Linked DNA regions of Homo sapiens: all the other regions are linked to region 7. Evidence: promoter capture Hi-C in 16 types of primary human blood cells and fetal thymus (Javierre and others, 2016). All regions are on one chromosome and are shown on one strand. Each heading gives the region's core, a stretch centred on a gene start or on the middle of the fragment in contact. The rest is flanking DNA. Distances are from core to core; before and after follow the strand shown. Region 1 has its middle 14 kb from the start of TARS3. Region 2 overlaps TARS3 (threonyl-tRNA synthetase 3). Region 3 overlaps TARS3 (threonyl-tRNA synthetase 3). Region 4 overlaps LRRK1 (leucine rich repeat kinase 1). Region 5 overlaps TARS3 (threonyl-tRNA synthetase 3). Region 6 has its middle 12 kb from the start of LINC02348. Region 7 holds the start of SNRPA1 (small nuclear ribonucleoprotein polypeptide A').

Evidence for each region. The method cuts DNA at HindIII sites, captures the fragments that hold promoters and counts their contacts. A CHiCAGO score of 5 or more calls a contact.
Region 1: a contact is called between a fragment that was not itself captured here and the fragment with the promoter of SNRPA1 in region 7, in 3 of 17 cell types (endothelial precursors, naive CD4 T cells and fetal thymus). The highest score is 6.8, in endothelial precursors.
Region 2: a contact is called between a fragment that was not itself captured here and the fragment with the promoter of SNRPA1 in region 7, in 17 of 17 cell types (fetal thymus, total B cells, total CD8 T cells and 14 more). The highest score is 23.9, in fetal thymus.
Region 3: a contact is called between a fragment that was not itself captured here and the fragment with the promoter of SNRPA1 in region 7, in 13 of 17 cell types (megakaryocytes, M1 macrophages, erythroblasts and 10 more). The highest score is 10.3, in megakaryocytes.
Region 4: a contact is called between a fragment that was not itself captured here and the fragment with the promoter of SNRPA1 in region 7, in 2 of 17 cell types (total B cells and M1 macrophages). The highest score is 7.0, in total B cells.
Region 5: a fragment that was not itself captured here is called in contact with the fragment with the promoter of SNRPA1 in region 7 in 13 of 17 cell types (fetal thymus, megakaryocytes, naive B cells and 10 more); the score reaches 9.0 in fetal thymus.
Region 6: a contact is called between a fragment that was not itself captured here and the fragment with the promoter of SNRPA1 in region 7, in 14 of 17 cell types (megakaryocytes, M1 macrophages, erythroblasts and 11 more). The highest score is 14.5, in megakaryocytes.

What each region holds. Positions count from the first base shown.
Region 1 is chr15:101,737,030-101,739,729 of GRCh38, forward strand. It overlaps the pseudogene UBE2Q2P13. Among named protein-coding and RNA genes, the nearest start is that of TARS3, 14 kb to the left of the region's middle. The HindIII fragment of the contact is 3,409 bases long and covers 1-2,700 here.
Region 2 is chr15:101,720,016-101,722,715 of GRCh38, forward strand. It overlaps TARS3 (threonyl-tRNA synthetase 3), which reads right to left. Exons shown (of 19, transcript NM_152334.3): 3 at 1,111-1,307. Among named protein-coding and RNA genes, the nearest start is that of TARS3, 3.1 kb to the right of the region's middle. The HindIII fragment of the contact is 156 bases long and covers 1,267-1,422 here.
Region 3 is chr15:101,676,230-101,678,969 of GRCh38, forward strand. All of the region lies in intron 12 of TARS3 (threonyl-tRNA synthetase 3), which reads right to left. Among named protein-coding and RNA genes, the nearest start is that of TM2D3, 25 kb to the left of the region's middle. RefSeq lists an enhancer at 1-365. The HindIII fragment of the contact is 5,094 bases long and covers 1-2,740 here.
Region 4 is chr15:100,921,682-100,924,542 of GRCh38, forward strand. It overlaps LRRK1 (leucine rich repeat kinase 1), which reads left to right. Exons shown (of 34, transcript NM_024652.6): 2 at 2,830-2,861. Among named protein-coding and RNA genes, the nearest start is that of LRRK1, 3.8 kb to the left of the region's middle. RefSeq lists an enhancer at 2,478-2,861. The HindIII fragment of the contact is 2,910 bases long and covers 1-2,837 here.
Region 5 is chr15:101,698,348-101,701,250 of GRCh38, forward strand. TARS3 (threonyl-tRNA synthetase 3) reads right to left here. Exons shown (of 19, transcript NM_152334.3): 10 at 2,739-2,837. Among named protein-coding and RNA genes, the nearest start is that of TARS3, 25 kb to the right of the region's middle. The HindIII fragment of the contact is 5,634 bases long and covers 1-2,903 here.
Region 6 is chr15:101,625,245-101,627,944 of GRCh38, forward strand. No RefSeq gene overlaps it. Among named protein-coding and RNA genes, the nearest start is that of LINC02348, 12 kb to the left of the region's middle. The HindIII fragment of the contact is 3,259 bases long and covers 1-2,700 here.
Region 7 is chr15:101,293,785-101,296,513 of GRCh38, forward strand. SNRPA1 (small nuclear ribonucleoprotein polypeptide A') reads right to left here and starts at 1,464. Exons shown (of 9, transcript NM_003090.4): 1 at 1,313-1,464. The coding sequence starts at 1,394. SNRPA1-DT (SNRPA1 divergent transcript) reads left to right here and starts at 1,564. Exons shown (of 2, transcript NR_186319.1): 1 at 1,564-1,945. RefSeq lists enhancers at 418-1,049, 1,613-1,662, 1,723-1,812 and a silencer at 1,193-1,382. The HindIII fragment of the contact is 2,362 bases long and covers 1-1,961 here.

The DNA.
Region 1 (2,700 bases), core at 152-2,651, 440 kb after region 7:
TGAATTCCTAATCTAAACTAAGGTTATACATGTGGGAAATAATAAAGAGAAACCAGGTAGTAAATAAGATTTGAAGGACTTAAAATACCCAGACTTTAATTCCTCTAAGATTATAGTCATTAATCATGCTTTTATATCATATTATCTCTTAACATTATATCATATTATCTCTTAACATTTAATTTCTAAATATAATGTTCATGAGGAAAAGAGAAAATAGCTTGGCTTCTCTCTTCACTGAATGGTTGTTCTTAGTATCTTCTAGATGTTCCAGAACTGATGTCAGATTTGGCTCGTCAGAGTCCACAAAACATATTGGTGAGAAAGATGAAGAGGATTCCTGTTTAGCACAGAGACACCTATGTTAAACATTTACATACAGACTAACCCAAATATGCAATTAAACCACACCACTAAATGGCAAGATTAACATGGATTTAAACAAAATGTATGGGGGGGAAAAGGCAACACATTAAAACCAATGTGAGGAGTTGGACTTTTGAGGCAGCCATTCTCTTTGCATAGCACTGTCTGCTACTACAGCTCATAGAAGTCAATAATTTTCTTCAGCACTGGTAGGCAGCCTCTAAATGGCCCCAATCACCCTCACCTCCTGGCATTCACACCCTTGTAAAATTCCCACCTCTGGACCTAGTGACTCACTTCTAACAAAGAGAATGCAACAGAAGTAATAACATCACTTCTGAGATGAGGCTACAAGGACAAAACGATGCCTGCCTTGGTCACCCTTCTCCTGCTCTTTCCATTGCTCCCTCTGATGGAAGCCAGTTGCCATGTGATGAGGTGCCCTATGGAGAGGCCCACGTGACAAGGTATTGTAAAAGCCCTCTGACCAATAGTCATCTAGAAACAGAGGCCCAGTACAACAGCCTGTGAGATAAATCCTGCCAACATATACGTGAGTGAGCTTGGAGATGGATTCCCTCCCTATCCTGCCTTGGGATGATCATAGCCGCCACCAACACCTTCACTGCCTGGTGAGAGGCCAAGCAAGTGAACCCAAGGTAAACTGCACAGAATCCTGACCCACAGAAACTGTGAGATAATGTTTGTTGTTTTAAGCTGCTAAATTTGTTACAGAGCAATAGATAACTAATTCAAACACCATAAAATTCTAATATTTTATTCTATCACACAAACCAAGTAATACCAAGAAATGCCATTGCTATACATGTATTTTTGGAACACAATTACATGTGATTTTTTTTAAAAAGCTAATGAACTAAGCATTATGTGCTTTTACCACTAACAGACATTTACTCTGTTACTTTCTACTGTTTCCTATTATAAATTGGGGAGAAGCCATTATTATTATATATTAGCTTCACAACAACTAGGTTCAAGTCATGGAAAACAATTTCGCACAAACTTTAGGAAACACTGCTTTGAAAACTGTAATCTGAATTATAGCTGAAGCCACAGAAACCAATTATTTACCAAAGGTTCTTTTAAGAAAAACAAGTTGGCCGGGCGTGATGGCTCATGCCTGTAATCCCAGCATTCTGGGAGGCCGAGGTGGGTGGATCACGAGGTCAGGAGATCAAGACCATCCTGTCTTGATCAAGAAACCCTGTCTCTACTAAAATAAAAAAAAAATTAGCGGGGCGTGATGGCATGCGCCTGTAGTCCCAGCTACTCAGGAGGCTGACACAGGGGAATCACTTGAACCAGGGAAGCAGAGGTTGCAGTGACCTGAGATTGCACCACTGCACTCCAGCCTGGTGACAGAGAAAGACTCTGTCCACCCCCCAAAAAAAAGAAAAAAGAAAAACAAGTTTTCTGGAAGGAGGACATCATTAACAGTATATCTCTTCAATAATGGTTTATTTTACTATTCTCATTCTTCTCATTCCTCTCTTACTATGTCCCAAATCTCTTTACAGGCTAAAAGAAACTCTTCAGAATTAATCCTATTCATGAAGAACACCACTTACTGAGTATTGCATTTTCTTCTTCAAATTCTTCAACATGCATTGGGAATACACCCTATGGACCATTTTTATGTGTTTAGTTTTGGGTTGTTTTTTTTTTTTTTTTTTTTTGGCTAAAGAAACTGCAACTAGATTTAGGACCTCATTCTATTAGGTTAGTATTTGTCTAGTAAACTTCAGCATAAGCAAAATAAAATACGTGTTGTTATTCTGGACTGAAACCCCTCAAAACCATATTTTAAAAATTATAAAAATAAATGAACTGAAATCATGTTTTTAAAAATCTTGTAGATGAAAAGATATGATATATAGTAGGTTTAACTACCTATTTCAACGGTTCCCAAAGTGGGGCCCTCAGATGCCCAGGTCCAAACTATTTTAACAGGAACACTAACATGGTGACATTTGCTTTAAGGGTGCAAATACAATAGTGGGTAAAAATGCTGGTACTTTAGCACAAACAGAGGCAGTAACACCAAACTAGTCATGGTATTCTTCACTATGCACAGGAAAGGTTTAAAAAGGAAGGGCAGGCTGGGCATGGTGTCTCACGCCTGTAATCCCAGCACTTTGGGAGGTGGAGGCAGGTGGATCACCTGAGGTCAGGAGTTTGAGACCAGCCTGGCCAACATGGTGAAACCCTATCTTTACAAAAAATACAAAATTTAGCTGGACATGGTGGTTGTATGCCTGTAGTCCCAGCTACTTAGAAGGCTGAGGCAGGAGGATTGATTGAGCCCAGAAGGTG
Region 2 (2,700 bases), core at 95-2,594, 430 kb after region 7:
AACACATTTAACATGCAACCTGACTCTCCATGAGAAAACAAACTTATTCTTGCCTCAAAACCTGTTTTCTCCTAGCACATCATTCCTCCTGGAAAACATGAAAACAGGCTGGGAGAGCATTTAACAATATAATAGGATGAATCAGAAATACAATCTTAGCCATAGTTTTCAAAGAAAATCTGAGAATTTCAGTTGTTGAAACAGTTTGCTTTTTAAATGATGAACATTTATTTACATGGCATTAATACAATTGTATAGAAGCTATATAATTGTATTTATACAATAGCTTCTATACAATTGTATTTAATGCTAAGAATTAACATGAGTCAAAACAATATAAGTTCACTAATGTATCTAATTTCTAGAAAAGTCAAAGCACTTTTCCAAGACTGATAATAGCTCTAAAACATTTATCTTCAATCTATACTTAAAAGACCTGTAAAAACTCATGGAAATTACTTGATTGACGAATAAAGTCAGTGTAAAATGGCCTATCAAGAATTACAGATTTTTTTCTCTCCTATATATTTTTATTAGAACAGGAAATGATTGTGTTCTGATATTCAACTACTTATTTACATGGCCCTTGGAGAAGCCAGAGGAAAAAAATTAAATACATTTAATTTATTCAACTGAATAAAAAAAAAATTAGCTGATATGGTTTGGCTGTGTGCCCATCCAAACCTCATCTTGAACTCTAGTTCCCATAATCCCCACGTTTTGTGGAAGGGACCCAGTGGGAGGTAACTGAATCACAGGGGCTGTTACCTCCATGCTGTTCTTTGATAGTGAGTGCATTCTCATGAGATCTGATGGTTTTATAAGGGGTTTTCCCCCCACTTTGCTCTGCACTTCTCCTTGCCGCTGCCATGTGAAGAAGGACATGCTTGCTTCCCCTTCTGCCACGACTGTAAGTTTCCTGAAGCCTCCCCAGCCCTGCGGAACTGTGAGTCAATTAAATCTTCTTCCTTTATAAATAACCCAGTCTCAGACATGTCCTTTTAGTATCGTGAGAATGGAGTAATATATTAGCGGTCCCTAAGAAAACATTTTCACCAGGCTTCAGTATAATTACTTAAGATTGAATATCTTTTCCACACTGCGGTTTACCTAATTTCAGCAGCCACTTGGTAAGGCGTTGTTTTCCAGACTTCCCCTTGCACTGTTTGCCCATCAGCCACTCTTACTGTGATGATGTTGCTTGTATCCCCCTTTTTTCCATAAATGGCAAGTAAGAGCTGATGGTCTTTCTTCAGTATTTCAAAAAGCTTCAATCTTTCTTTTATGAAAATTGGTTGATGCTTCACCTGGAAATTATTAGAACATAATGAGATTAATATATACAGCCTACTGTTTTCCAGCTGCTCAGCTCTGAATCAGGCTCACCCCCTTACTGCCTTCTCAGTTCTACAGATGGTCCCAAGCTTACCATGGTTTGAATTACGATTTTGTTGTTGTTGTTGTTTTTTGGTTTGTTGTTGTTGTTGCTGTTGTTTTGAGATGGAGTCTTGCTTTGTCGCCCAGGCTGGAGTGCAGGGGCACGAAATCAGCTCACTGCAGCCTCTGTCTCCTAGGTTCAAGCGATTTTCCTGCCTCGGCCACCCGAGTAGCTGGGATTACAGGCACGCACCACCCTGCCAGACTAATTTTTGTATTTGTAGTAGAGATGGGGTTTCGCCATGTTGGCCAGGCTGGTCTCGAACTCCTGACCTCAAATGATTTACCTGCCTTGGCCTCCCAAAATGCTGGGATTACAGGCGTGAGTCACCGTATCCAGCCGCAATTTTTCAACTTTAGTGATGTGAAAGTCATATGCATTCAGTAGAAACTGTACTTTGAGTATCCATACAACCATTGTGTTTTTCACTCAGTACAGTATTCAATAAATTACATGAGATATTCAACACTTCATAATAAAATAGGCTTTATGTTAGAGGATTTTGCCCAACTGTAAGCTAATCTAAGTGTTCTGAGCACTTTTAATGTAGGCTAGGCTAAACTACGATGATCACTAGCTTACGTGTATTAAATACATTTTTAACTCACATTGGTTTTATTGGGACATAACCCAACTGTAAGACTAAGAGCATGTGTACTTCCCACCTCCAAAAGGCTCCTCTCTGCCTATCTAACTTCTCCTTAGCTCTAAAGGTCCACCTCAAAGCCTGCCTCCTCTACCTATTTTACCCGCTGGCATCTCCCTTTTTTTTTTTTTTTTCCTTTGAGACAGCCCCACGCCCAGCCCCCATGACACCTCCCTTTTCTACTGTTTACAGAACGTGTACAGAGTCACACATTACAGCACTTACTTGTATACCATCGTACTCTGTTCTCTAGTTGTTTGTCCTGAGTCTGCCTGAATTCCTCAACCAGACTAACTTCTTTGGGCCTAGGTATTCCTTCTTCACTCCTACCAAATGTTGATGCTAGATAAATACTTACTGATTGTTTTAATGCTTTATATACAAAAGCAAAGTAGCTAGTTTCTCGAATACAAAAAAAAAAAAAAGACCGGGGGCGGTGGCTCACGCCTGTAATCCCAGCACTTTGGGAAGCCAAGGTGGGCGGATCATGAGGTCAGGAGATCGAGATCCTCCTGGCTAACACGGTGAAACCCCATCTCTACTAAAAAAAAAAAAAAAAAAAAAAAAAAATTAGCCGGGCTTGGTGGCATGCACCTGTAGTCCCAGCTACTCAGGA
Region 3 (2,740 bases), core at 191-2,690, 380 kb after region 7:
TTTTTTAGGCTGAGAACAACGGGGAGGCAATGAAGGGTTTTTGTTTTGTTTTGTTTTGTTTAAGCAGGGGACTAACATGAGTCAATGTGTTCTTTCACAGTATGTGGAATGAACTGGCAAGATTAGAAGAGAGCCCCATCAGGAAGCTGGCTGAGTCAATTAGGAGCAAGATGACAGTGGCTTAAACCAGAGAGAGGCAGCTGAAATGCAGGGAATTTGATGGATTTGAGACATCAAGTCTTTCATTCATTAACTGCAATGGCTAGTTTTTTGTTTTGTTTTGTTTTTTGAGACAGTCTTGCTCTGTCACCCAGGCTGGAATGCAGTGGTGTGGTCTTGGCTCACTGCAACCTCTGCCTCTCGGGTTCAAGCGGTTCTCATGCCTCAGGCTCCCGAGTAGCTGGAACTACAGGTGCTCGCCACCATGCTCGGCTAATTTTTGTATTTTTTTTTTTTTAGTAGAGAAGGGGTTTCGCCATGTTGGCCAGGCTGGTCTCGAACTCCTGGCCTCAAGTGACCCACCTGCCTCAGCCTCCCAAAGTGCTGGGATTATAGGCATGAGCCACTACACCCTTTTTTTTTTTTTTTTAAGTTCCTGGGTGCACGTGCAGGATGTGTAGTTTGTTACATAGGTATATGTGTGCCATGGTGGTTTGCTCCACCTATGAACCCGTCACCTAAGTATTTAAGCCCAGAATGCATTAGCTATTTATCCTGATGCTCTCCCTCCCTCCTCTTCCCTCCGACAGGCCCCAGTGTGTGTTGTTCCCCTCCCTGTGTCCATCTGTTCTCATTGTTCAGTTCCCACTTATAAGTGAGAACATATGGAGTTTGGTTTTCTATTCCTGTGTTAGTTTGCTGAGGATAATGGCTTGTGATGGCTACTTTTAAGTGTTAACTCGACTGAGCTAAAAGATGCCAGACAGCTGGCCACCCTTACAACATTTATTTCTGGGAATGCCTGTGAGTGCGTTTCTCGAAGAGATGAGCATCTGAATCAGTGGAATTGGTAAACAACTTCCACCCTCACCAATGTGGGTGGGCCTCATCCAATCTGTTGAGGGCAGGAATAGAACTCAAAGGCAGAGGAAAGGCAAATTCTCTCTCTTTTTGAGTTGGGACATTTATTTTCTCCTGTTCTCAGACACTGGAGCTCCTGGTTCTCAGGCCCACCAACTCTGGGACTTACACCAGCTCCCTCCTTTGCTCACCCCACTGAGGCTTTTGGCCTTAGACTGGGAGTTATACCATCAGCTTTCCTAGTTCTCCAGCTTTTTTTTTTTTTTGAGACGGAGTTTTGCTCTTGTTGCCCAGGCTGCAGTGCAATGGCACAGTCTCAGCTCACCACAACCTCCACCTCCCGGGTTCAAGCAATTCTCCTGTCTCAGCCTCCTGAGTAGCTGGGATTACAGGCACATGCCACCACGCCTGGCTAATTTTGTATTTTTAGTAGAGACAGGGTTTCTCCATGTTAGTCAGTCTAGTCTCGAACTCCCAACCTCAGGTGATCCACCCACCTCAGCCTCCCAAAGTGCTGGGATTACAGGCACGTGCCACCAAGCCTGGCTAATTTTGTATTTTTAGTAGAGACAGGGTTTCTCCATGTTAGTCAGTCTGGTCTCGAACTCCCAACCTCAGGTGATCCACCCACCTCAGCCTCCCAAAGTGCTGGGACTACAGGTGTGTGCTACCATGCCTGGCCTTTCTCCAGCTTTTAATTGGCATATCATGGGACTTCTTTTTTTTTGGGGGTCATTTTTTTTTTTTTTTTGAGATGGAGTATCACTGTCACCCAGGCTGGAGTGCAGTGGCATGATCTCGGCTCACTGCAACCTCTGCCTCCCAAGTTCAAGCGATTCTCTTGCCTCAGCATCCTGATAGCTGGGATTACAGGTGTGTGCCACCACACCCAGCTAATTTATGTATTTTTAGTAGAGATGGGGTTTCACCATGTTGGTCAGGCTGGTCTTGAACTCCTGACCTCATGATCTGCCTGCCTCAGCCTCCCAAAGTGCTGGAATTACAGGCATGAGCCACCTCACCCAGCCTGGGTCATATTTTTTAATCTACTATGTCAATCTCTTTTAATTGGTTTATTTAGACCATTTACACTTAATATGTTAGGGCTTTACACTGCCTTTTTGTTTCCTTCTTGTTCTCTCTTGTTATTCATTTCTGTTTTATTTTTCCTGTCTTCCTATGGATTACTTTAACATTTTTCTGGAATTCAATTCCAATTTATCTATAGGTTCTCTTAGTGTATCCCTGTCTATAGCTTTTTTTTTTATTGGTTTCTCTAGGTATTATATAACTTATCAGTCCAGATATTGTCACTTTACCAGCTCAGGTGAAGTACAAAAACTTTTATTCCCTATACCTTACCCCATTTATAGTATAATTTTCTTAAACATTTCTTCTACATACATTTAGAACATCAGAAAGAACATGTGATTTTTACTTCAATGATCAAACATAATTTAGAAAACGCAAAAGGAGAAGGAAAATATATTGTATTTACCTGTTTTTATTTTCACAATCTTTTTCTTCCTAAAGTTCCCTGATTCCTCTTTTCATCATTTCCTTTCTGTTTAGAAAACTTCCTACAGCCATTCTTTTGGTGGGTCCAATGTCTTGATTTCCCCTCAATTGCTGAAGGGTATTTTCTTTAGACATAGAATTCTGGGTTGAAAATTCCTTTTTCTTTTTTCAGCACTTTAAAAGTATTGTGCCACTTCCTTCT
Region 4 (2,861 bases), core at 133-2,632, 370 kb before region 7:
AAGAACTCAATAAGACATTTGTAGAATGAATGACAGGTTCTTCTCTTTTCTTTTCTCTAGAGTCTTGCTCTGTCACCCAGGTTGGAGTGCAGTGGTGCAATCTTGGCTCACTGCAACCTCCACCTCCCCCAGTTTAAGTGATTCTCATGCCTCGGCCTCCCAAGTAGCTGGGATTACAGGCGCCCACCAGCATGCCCAGCTAATTTTTGTAATTTTAGTAGAGATGGGTTTTTACCATATTGGCCAGGGTGATCTCGAACTCCTGACCTCAAGTGATCCACTCTCCTCGGCCTCCCAAAGAGCTGGGATTACAAGCGTGAACCACCGCACCCATCTATTTTCTTTTCCATTAAATGTTTAGGTTTATTCATTAATGCAGGTATAAATAGTTGGCAAAAGGAAATTGATGAGGTTTTGAAAAATCATTTAAACCATCATTACTGCTGAAAACCTCTTGATGCCCTCTTTAGGGTGTATAATGAAGACATGTAACTTGTAATCATCACTTGTTGGCACCTCTCTGGACCCAAAAGAAGCAGGAGGAAGCAAAGATCCGTTTGAGGGCAAAGATTGAGCAAAATTTGAATTACCTCATCTTAAAACTTCTACCTTAGAATATAAGCCAAAATAGTAACTAGAATTTTAAAACTGCTCCAGGGGCAGAGTCTTCCACTGGTAAAGTGATTTTCAAAAGGAAACTGAAAATGAAAAGGGGAACAAAATGTGCTGGGTGAGGGTTAGCCTGAAATAATTTTAAGATTTTTTTTTTTTTAGAACTTAAAAACATTGTATGGTAAGACACTTCTGTTTTCAGGAAGAATGTCTAGCGTTTGGATTTTTGAAATGCTGTTGGTTATGTGCGGTAGCTGTTTTGGAGAGGTGTCTGAAAGCAGATGGCAACTGTGCTTCTCAGTTTCTGGATGTGAATGTGTGATCGGAACGTTTATTTTAAAACAGATTCTGTCTTGCTGGCTCTTCCTCTCTCTGTCACAAGTTGATTTTCCAAATCAGGTTTTGCTATTTATAAGGCTTTCATCATCCCCTAAATTTTGCCCAGATTGATCGTTTTTCCTTTCCTCCTTCGACTTTTCAGGCTTCCCAACTTCAAACACAGGTGTTTCCCACACGTGGTTTGTGTCGACCATCCCTTTTGCCTCTGAAACATGTGCAGCTTGCACAAGGCTGCTGGAGCCTGGCTTTTCTAGCTCCACCTTTCCCTGCCTTGACGAGTCCAGTCCACCTGGGCCAGGTGCCTGAGTTCTAGGCTTTTAGGTGAGAAATTCCCACAGCCTTGTCCTGTACCTTACTTCGTGCCCCTACTGCTCACGGCATCTTCTAGAACCTACCCGCTGGTGAGGCTGGCATCTGCCCTCCAGCATTGATATTCTGATCTTATTAATTAGCAGGGAAGTGGGAGACCCGCTGGCCTCCAAGTCTGTGCGCTGGTACTACAGGTAATGACCACCCCAGCCCTGTCGTAGAGAGAGGCTGCAGAAACTTCACTTTGGTTGAATTCACACAGTAACCCCACTAGCAGGCCCGGGCATAAGGGTGGATGTCTATTTTTAACAGGTGAAAACTGAGACACACATACCTTTCAGCTGGGAGTCACACTGCGAACATGTGACACAGGCAGTCCACACCTTTAACGTCCACGCTATGCTTTTGCCTGTACAGATTCTCTTAGGCATTATTTTTATATAACCTTGATTTAAAAAATATATTTTTGGCTGCACTATCACTCCCCATTTCAGAGTTGTCTATCTGAGAGAACACAGACAAGAGGTGCTAATTACCTCGTACTTCATCACATGTAGGATATGCTATAAGAACAAGGATAGGCGCACATGCATTACTTATGGTAGTACCTCATGTCAGGCCTGAGCTAGGCATGGGTCTTACCCTCCCTCTGGTCCTTCAATCACCATACCAGGATGGGCACTTATGCCCATGGGGGGACTCTAAGCTCAGTGGGGGCCCAGCATAGAAGAGCAGCACTTGGTCTCAGTTTATCATAGTCATTAGTTTCAGAGATTAGTCTAACTCCACCCTGGAACTTTTGGGGCCAGATAATTCTTTGTTGCAAATAGCAGTCCTGTACATTGTAGGATGTTTAGCAGCATCATTGACCTCTACCCATTAGAGGCCTGTAGCACTCTCCCCCAGCCAAGTTGTGGCAACCAAAAATGTCTCCAGACATTGCCAAATGTCCCCTGGGAAAGGGGCAGAATTTTTGAGGCTCATGTCTGCTAACCTCCGTCATTTAGCTTTCTGCTAAAGCTCATGCTAACTTGACTTCATAACCAGTAATAATTCCATGTCTTTGGAACTGTTGCCTGACCACCCCCTTGGGATGACGTGCTCACCTCTGGCTTCCAGAAGAACTGGCCCCGGGCAAAAGGAGAGCCTTGTATCGTGACTAACCTTAACTATGTCTGCCCTACCCCCACTGGAGTGTGCCCCTGAGGGCAAGAGCCTCCTTGAGCCATCTTGGTGCCACTGAGCCTCACACAGAGCCTGGCTACCTTGCATGTGACAGTAGGTGTGCGTTGACTGAACAATGATTGAAGCTGTTACCAGTATGTGTTTTCCAATTGTCTGGGGTTTGTTTGAGACTCTTCTCAGGTAGACAATACCTGAGCCCCGCATCAAGATGGGATGGGGGGAGCTGTGCCTTCCCACTGACCACACCTGATGGGTTTGGCTGGATAGATGGACTACAAAAAGGAATGTTGCAGAGGGAAAACTAAATGAACCCATGCAAATATTTGCAGGGGAGGAGGACAGGAATTATAAAGGCTTTCTGTTTTGATTGTTTTTCGCCACCAGAGCAAGAAAGCTTTCTGCTCAGCCATGGCTAC
Region 5 (2,903 bases), core at 389-2,888, 400 kb after region 7:
ATAAAAAAATACATAAATAATTTTTTTTTTTTTAAAAAAGAAAGCTACCCTAAGGCACATATGGGCCATTTCTTATGGAAGAGAAAGGATGACTCAGAGGGCAGAATCACAGCCAGGCAGAGCAAAACTGGATCTTAATCAAAGTGTATCTTTTGACCCTGGGGCAGTGATGACCGGTAGATACCAGAATTTCTACAGATGGTGACTACCATGTGCCTCCTACTCTACCCCACTCCTTTTTGAGTAAGACTATCTATTGCATTATTCCTCAAGCACCATTTTACAATGTGAGGGAGATGAGAGGATGAGGTGGCTGATAGATAACTTGAGTTTTTAGTTCACAGGTCTTAAACTGTAGAGGAAATGTACTTGATAATCTGTTCCCAACAAACTGCACCCGAGGAGCCTCATCTGCAGCTAGGCCTGATTCAGAAGATGTCCTGGATTTTTGAGCCAATGTAGTAATTAGATGAGCCTTGGAATTATTTGTTAAGAATAGAACACTTTGGAAGAGTAGAATGGACTTCCCTACAGTCCTTTGGGGCTGAAAAGACATAAACCCACCAGCCTGTCAAGTGGAAACCCAAGGGGGTCATGACCTAGAAACAGGAATCAAAAGTTGAATCTTATTAAAGTGGAAGCCGGCCCTAACCCAGTGCAATCTCTGATCGAATTCAATGATCAGTCCTTAATAGTGGCAGAGGGTGAATGCTCCAGTGGGAGATATCATCTAGAGCCTCTACACCTAAATTACATGTAATACTTGGCATCTAACAAAATATTACTTGATATGGGAAGTGACACAACCATAATAACAAAAAACCAACAGAAAAAACAGCTGAGTTCTCCAAAAGGTTTTTTTCATGGTAAGGCCAATTCCTTCAGACAAAGGTATCCAGAAATGCAAAGTTCTCAGTGTCGCCTGTGTCTGTCAAATATTCCCATTCCAAGCCTCAGGGACCCTTCCCAACCAGTGCCCTTACCTTAGAATAAGAGATCACTGGGTTTGTGCATTTAAGTGCCTTTACAGTTTGGTGACCCTCACAATCAGGCCCTGCTCCTGTTCATCAGCCACATCTGTCTTGCATCTATAAAAAATAAGAGATCCCCTTAATGCCACTGTAAAGGCTTTCTGTTCATTCTCCATCTATTGTACTCCCAACTTGAGAGTACAAGGTGCCAGGGGCCATGCTGATTTTCCAGAGAAGACAGCACATCCAAATCAGCAGCTGTGATGGTCATCACCACCTGCCTAAATGTAAATCTCTGATAATCTTCAGTGATTCTTCAAGTCTCTTCCACTGCCCTCTGATCTCCTACCATTGCCTCGCATTGGCCAGTCCCTACTGGAAGATGTGTACCCCAGGTGATAGAATACAGACATGTCAGCCTCCAGGGGCACAGCACAAGAAGAAAAAGACGGAGAACAAGACTGGAGAAGCAAACAGAGAATAACCAGTGCAGGCCACATGCCATGGATTGTCTTCTCAGAAAGTTACTGAAGAAAGTGATCCCCAAATGAGAATTAAAGATAAGCAACGAAGAGATATACAGGGACCAGGAAAAGAGACTCAGCATAGGAAGAGACATGAGGGGAGTGGCCAAGATGATGATGAAAAGAAGTCCTAAGCCATCAGTTTGCAAGAATCTTAGTAGCAAGTTAATTCTGGAGTAGGACCAAATTTGAAAAAAAAAATTACTGAGCAATTACCTGAATCATTGCAGAATATGTTGCAAGGAGATTTGTAGTTTTTGAGAGAAATTGGAGCATGAATTAGTGGTAGGCACATAAAAAAACTAAGTAAATGAAAAATTTAGGTAATGATTATAGGAAAGACAAAACAGTGCAAGCATGGAAATGTAATCCCAGTAGTCCACCCGGATCACCTGTGAACACTATCTACACAGTCCTTATCATGTAAATACTAAAGACTTTCCCACCTATGAACTTGTAATACAAGTAGGTATTTTGCACTGTTGGTTTTTTCCTCTTTCCTCTGGAACTGCCAAATCACCTGGGAGTCATGCTATAGGCAAAGGGAAGCATCAGTGGCCCATGGAGCACATTTGGAGAAGCAATGCTTCATGGCTTAACACTCTGTACCAGAGACGACACTTTCTCCTTTCTTCTTTTTCACAGGGAGTGCCACACTTAGTCTAATGCTTACCTTTATATTCTACATGGTTTAGAAACTTATATGGACAAAAAGTGAATTTTATGAAATCCAGGAATGTATTCAGGGGAAACAGAAATTATCTCCATGTTATTATTAGAAGGTACAATCTAGTACCTCACTTTTTTTTTTTTTTTCTTTGAGATGGAGTCTTGCTCTGTCACCAGGCTGGAGCGCAGTGGCACAATCCTGGCTCACTGCAAACTCTGCCTCCCGGGTTCAAGCAATTCTCCTGCCAGCCTCCCAAGTAGCTGGGATTACAGGTGTGCACCACCACACTCGGCTAATTTTTGTATTTTTAGTAGAGACAGGGTTTCACCATGTTGGCCAGGCTGGTCTCGAACTCCTGACCTCAGGTGATCTGCCCACCTTGGCCTCCCAAAGTGCTGGGATTATAGGTGTGAGCCACCGTGTCTGGCCAGTATCTCACTTTTAACCTCAAAATTCTTATTAATGTTACCAAAGTAAAGTTAATGGAAACGCTTGACCACTTTATTATGAGAGAAAATAGTAAAAATGTAAACTGGAATTGAATAAGAATAAAACATTTTAAAGTTAACTTACTCGTATGAAATCTGTAAGCGTATTATAAATGAAGGCTCCTCTGGGAAGGAAAAAACAGCTTCCAGGACTCAAATCGTGGAAAAAGAAAAGTTCTTGTTCCTAGATTGAAACAAAAATTGCATTTCAAATGTCATCTGCTATTGCTTAATATTTACTGCACACACA
Region 6 (2,700 bases), core at 89-2,588, 330 kb after region 7:
AAAGAGGTTTAACTGACTCACAGCTTAGCATGGCTGAGGAGGCCTCAGGAAATTACAGTCATGGCAAAAGGGGAAGCACACATGTCCTTCTTCACATGGTGGCATCAAGGAGAAGTGCCAAGCAAAAAGGGGAAAAGCCCCTTACAAAACCATCAGATCTCATGAGAGCTCACTCACTGTCATGAGAACAGCAGCATAGGGTAACCGCCCTTATGATTCCATTACCTCCCACTGGGTCCCTCCCATGACATGTGGAGATTATGGGAGCTACAATTCAAGATGAGATTTGGGTGTGGACACAGACAAACCATATCAGAGACTGTAGTGGAGACCTGTTTGGCCATTTCTGTCTTGCATTAAGGAGAAAGAACCCTTCCTCCTCTACACCAGGACTCAGAGCAAACTTCAGGGTGAAGCCCTTTCAACTATTCTGATCCTACACTAACATGGGTAGAAGTGGCACCCCTCCCCCAATACCTATCACTGTGGAGACTGTAGAGTGAATCCTTTCTACCATCCCTCTGCTGCACTAAGCAAATGTCAGCAAAGAGGTGATGCTTCTCTCCCACTCCACTGGTGCATAGACTGTGACCATCCCCACCGTGCACGAAGCAAACAGCAGCAAAGAGGCAGCACCTCCTCCCCTCCCAATTAGAGCAGGGTAGGTAGGATTACGGAGGAGAGAACCTGTGTATTAATTCCTGGGCAGACCCCCAAGCAGCCTATGCCTAATAAGAATCAACACATTAGAAGATTGGAGAACTGAGCTGCAGTGTCAAACACTGCTATCATTTCACATTGGCCTCTGGGCAGCACATAAGCTGGGAAGACCAGGGTAGCAAACTAAATTGGCATTTGAATCTCAGCCTATGAAAGTGTACCGGAACATGCATCCTGAAGCTAAACAGGTTGACTGCCTGCTGAAAGAAGATTTAAATAGAAACCAGAACTTCATGACACAACACTCAGAATGTCCTAGTTACAATCCACAATTACTCATCACACTATGACCAAGGACATCTCAATTTGAATGCAAAAAGGCAAACAACAGACAGCAACACCAAGATAATACAGATACTATAATTGTCTGACAAGGGTTTTAAGGAACCAGCATAAAAATGCTCCAAAAAGTAAATAGTAACACTGTGGGAGAAAAAAAAAAAGAAAAAATAGAAACTCTAAACAAAGGAAAAGAAAACTTACCACGGGAGGAGCCAAGATGTCCGAATAGGAACAGCTCTGGTCTACAGCTCCCAGCGTGAGCGACGCAGAAGATGGGTGATTTCTGCATTTCCATCTGAGGTACCGGGTTCATCTCACTAGGGAGTGCCAGACAGTGGGCGCAGGTCAGTGGGTGCGTGCACCGTGCGCGAGCCGAAGCAGGGCGAGGCATTGCCTCACTTGGGAAGAGCAAGGGGTCAGGGAGTTCCCTTTCCGAGTCAAAGAAAGGGGTGACGGACGGCACCTGGAAAATCGGGTCACTCCCACCCGAATATTGCGCTTTTCAGACCCGCTTAAAAAACGGCGCACCACGAGATTATATCCCGCACCTGGCTCGGAGGGTCCTACCCCACGGAGTCACACTGATTGCTAGCACAGCAGTCTGAGATCAAACTGCAAGGCGGCAGCGAGGCTGGGGGAGGGGCGCCCGCCATTGCCCAGGCTTCCTTAGGTAAACAAAGCAGCCTAAAGCTCGAACTGGGTGGAGCCCACCACAGCTCCAGGAGGCCTGCCTGCCTCTGTAGGCTCCACCTATGGGGGCAGGGCACAGCCAAACAAAAAGACAGCAGTAACCTCTGCAGACTTAAATGTCCCTGTCTGACAGCTTTGAAGAGAGCAGTGGTTCTCCCAGTACACAGCTGGAGATATGGGAACCGGCAGACTGCCTCCTCAAGTGGGTCCCTGACCCCTGACCCCTGAGCAGCCTAACAGGGAGGCACCCCCCAGCAGGGGCAGACTGACACCTCACAGGGCCCAGTACTCCAACAGACCTGCAGCTGAGGGTCCTGTCTGTTAGAAGGAAAACTAACAAACAGAAAGGACATCCACACCGAAAACCCATCTGTACATCACCATCATCAAAGACCAAAAGTAGATAAAACCACAAAGATGGGGAAAAAACAGAACAGAAAAACTGGAAACTCTAGAAAGCAGAGCGCCTCTCCTCCTCCAAAGGAACGCAGTTCCTCACCAGCAACGGAACAAAGCTGGATGGAGAATGACTTTGACGAGCTGAGAGAAGAAGGCTTCAGACAATCAAATTACTCTGAGCTACGGGAGGACATTCAAACCAAAGGCAAAGAAGTTGAAAAACTTTGGAAAAAATTTAGAAGAATGTATAACTAGAATAACCAATACAGAGAAGTGCTTAAAGGAGCTGATGGAGCTGAAAACCAAGGCTCGAGAACTACGTGAAGAATGCAGAAGCCTCAGGAGCCGATGCGATCAACTGGAAGAAAGGGTATCAGCGATGGAAGATGAAATGAATGAAATGAAGTGAGAAGGGAAGTTTAGAGAAAAAAGAATAAAAACAAATGAGCAAAGCCTCCAAGAAATATGGGACTATGTGAAAAGACCAAATCTACGTCTGATTGGTGTACCTGAAAGTGATGGGGAGAATGGAACCAAGTTGGAAAACACTCTGCAGGATATTATCCAGGAGAACTTCCCCAATCTAGCAAGGCAGGCCAACGTTCAGAT
Region 7 (2,729 bases), core at 214-2,713:
GAAAAGAAATATTCCGAAGAAGCAAGGTCTACTAAAAAAAGAACTTACCCAAAGTTAAAGGACACAATTCAGAGCTGTACTACACGTACTGCATCAAAATACGTATTCTCAACACTGCACATGCTCCATAAAGAGAAATGGCAGAGATCATCAAAAGTGGTGAGTTGGGCCGGGCGCAGTGGCTCAAGCCTGTAATCCCAGCACTTCGGGAGACCAAGGCGGGCGGATCACCTGAGGTCGGGAGTTCGAGACCAGCCTGACCAACATGGAGAAACCATGTCTTTACTAAAAATACAAAAAATTAGCCGGGCGTGGTGGCGCATGCCTGTATTCCCAGCTACTCGGGAGGCTTGAGACACAGGAATCACCTGAACCGGGGAGGCGGCGGTTGCAGTGAGCCGAGATCACGCCACTGCGCTCCAGCTGGGGCGGAAAGAGCGAGACTCCATCTCAACACAACACAACACAAAACAGTGGGATTTCCCAAAGGTCGGCAAGAAATCTAAGCAGATCCCGCAGCGATGCTGCTCCGAGGCCATAGGTCCCCATGGGAACAAATCTCAGGCTACGACAGCATGGTCTTATCCTCAGAGAAGTTGCTCTATCACGTCCCTTTTAAAGCCGTCTCCTGAAATGCCAACTAGCTAGCTGCCCTCCCAGTATCTTACCAAGTCTTGCTAAGGTTGAAATAGTACAGGAATCTGAATAATTGCGAGCGCTTCCACAACTTACACACAGCACCCGGCGGTGCAAGCCTGGGTGACACAGTTCAATTTTTAAAACGTCTTCATATAGGGGAAACGCCAGACAATTAAAGCTACTAAGTAGAAAATACTGGAGGAAACAATCGCGGTTGTTCGGGGACTTAGTTTCCTCCCTCACATTAGGAATAATGAACACATATCCTATCTACGCTCAAAATATCATCTGGCGGCAAGTATTAAGAACCAATCCCGCGCCCTGCACTTGCGTTACAACCATTAATGAGCCGCTCTTCCGGGCCCTCAAACAGCCAGCGGCGAAACAGCCAAGCAAGGCCTAACAGGGCCCCACGAGGACGCACCAGGAAGTAATGAAGTCACCCGTGCCTGTCAAGAGGCACGGCGCTAACAGAAGGCTCCCAGGAGCTTAACCGGATGCTCATCTGGCAACAACGGCAAGAATCAGGCCCGGCGTTCCCTGCGCAGCCCGGTCGGAGCCCAGACAACCGGCCCGCGGGCCAAGCTCCGGCCTTCGGTGCACGCGGCAAAGCGCGGAAAATAAGGCGGCTCGGTGCCGCCTGGGGACTGGCCGCCCACGCCCCCGGACTCACCCCGGAGGTCCAGCTCCCGGTCGCGCACCGCGTTGGTGTACTGCGCCGCCTGCTCGATCAGCTCCGCCGTCAGCTTGACCATCCTGCAGCCTCCCGTTCCCCCGCGCTGTGGAAAGCCCGTGGCCTCCCGCCAGCGAGACGTCCCAGCGTGCCCCGCGCCCCGCCGCCAGGCAGCACCAATCGCAGCCGCCGAGTGCGCGCGCAGCTCGACCGCCAGGCCGAAGCAATCGAAGAGCCACGCCTCCGGGGGCGTTCTTGCCGGAAGTCGTGGCGCGCGCACAGGGGATGTGTCTCGTTCTGGGTTGTTTCCTAGGGTGTGTTTCGGAGTCTGGAGGACCCCTGATTCCAGACGTTGGTGTTTAAAAGTTAAGGCGAATGTGGAAACACCCGAGGGGAACTTTCTCATGCATTAGCGCACCTCGAGGTGGGAGGGGAAGCGGTGACTGTCCTCCCTCCACCAGCCGTCGCGGGAACCCGTGGGGTTCAGTGAAGGGTCCAGCAGTTCAGGTGCCCGCCCCGGGCCTGGGCCTTGGCTCCGGGCTACAGTGTGAGATCCCGGGCTAGGTGGCCCGCCTGGGGCAGGTCGCCGGGACAACCCCACCGCCCCGCAAGTCCAGCCCGGCCTCGGGCACGGTAGGGTTTGCGGTTAAGCTTGTGACCTTTAGACTTCTGAATATTCATATGTATGAAATGTGATATACATAAAAGTGTGCATATCAGGAATTTACAGTGATTAATGACCAGAGTGAACACAGCTGCGTAGCCGACACCGGGATCCAAAACACCGCTATTCTGAAAGCCTCCCTCTTTCCCAAAAGGCAACCGCGAACTCAACACTACAAATTCGGTTTGCTTGCTTTTGCTATAAATAGAATCATGCAGTATGCTTTTTTTTTTGGCCTAGTTTCATGGAGTCTATATTATGTCTGGAGTCCATCCAGGTTGCATACAGAGATGGTTTGTTTGCTTTTGCTGCTGAAGAGAATTCCATTGTATATATTATACCATAAATTACTTATTCTGCTGTTGATAGACATCAAAGTTGTTTTCAGTTAGGGCTATTCTGAGTAATGCTACTATGAATTTTCTGGTACGTGGTTCTGATGCACGTTTGCATGAGTTTGTCCTGGAGTGGGACTGCTGGGACATAGGGTATATCTATCATCAATAAGTAATGCCCAACAGTTATGCTAAGAGGCTGAAATAATATACACACTCCAGCGGTGTGTAAGGGTTTTCATGGCTTCCAGCTTCAGCCTTCTTGGCATTTTAACTCTATAACTTCAGCTATTCTGATGGGTGTGTGGTGGTATTGCACTACTGCTTTGCTTTGCTTTTCTCTAATAACTAATGAAGCTGAGAACCTTCTCATGTGTATGGTGCCCATTCTGATAGCTTCCTTGGTTAAGTGTTCTTT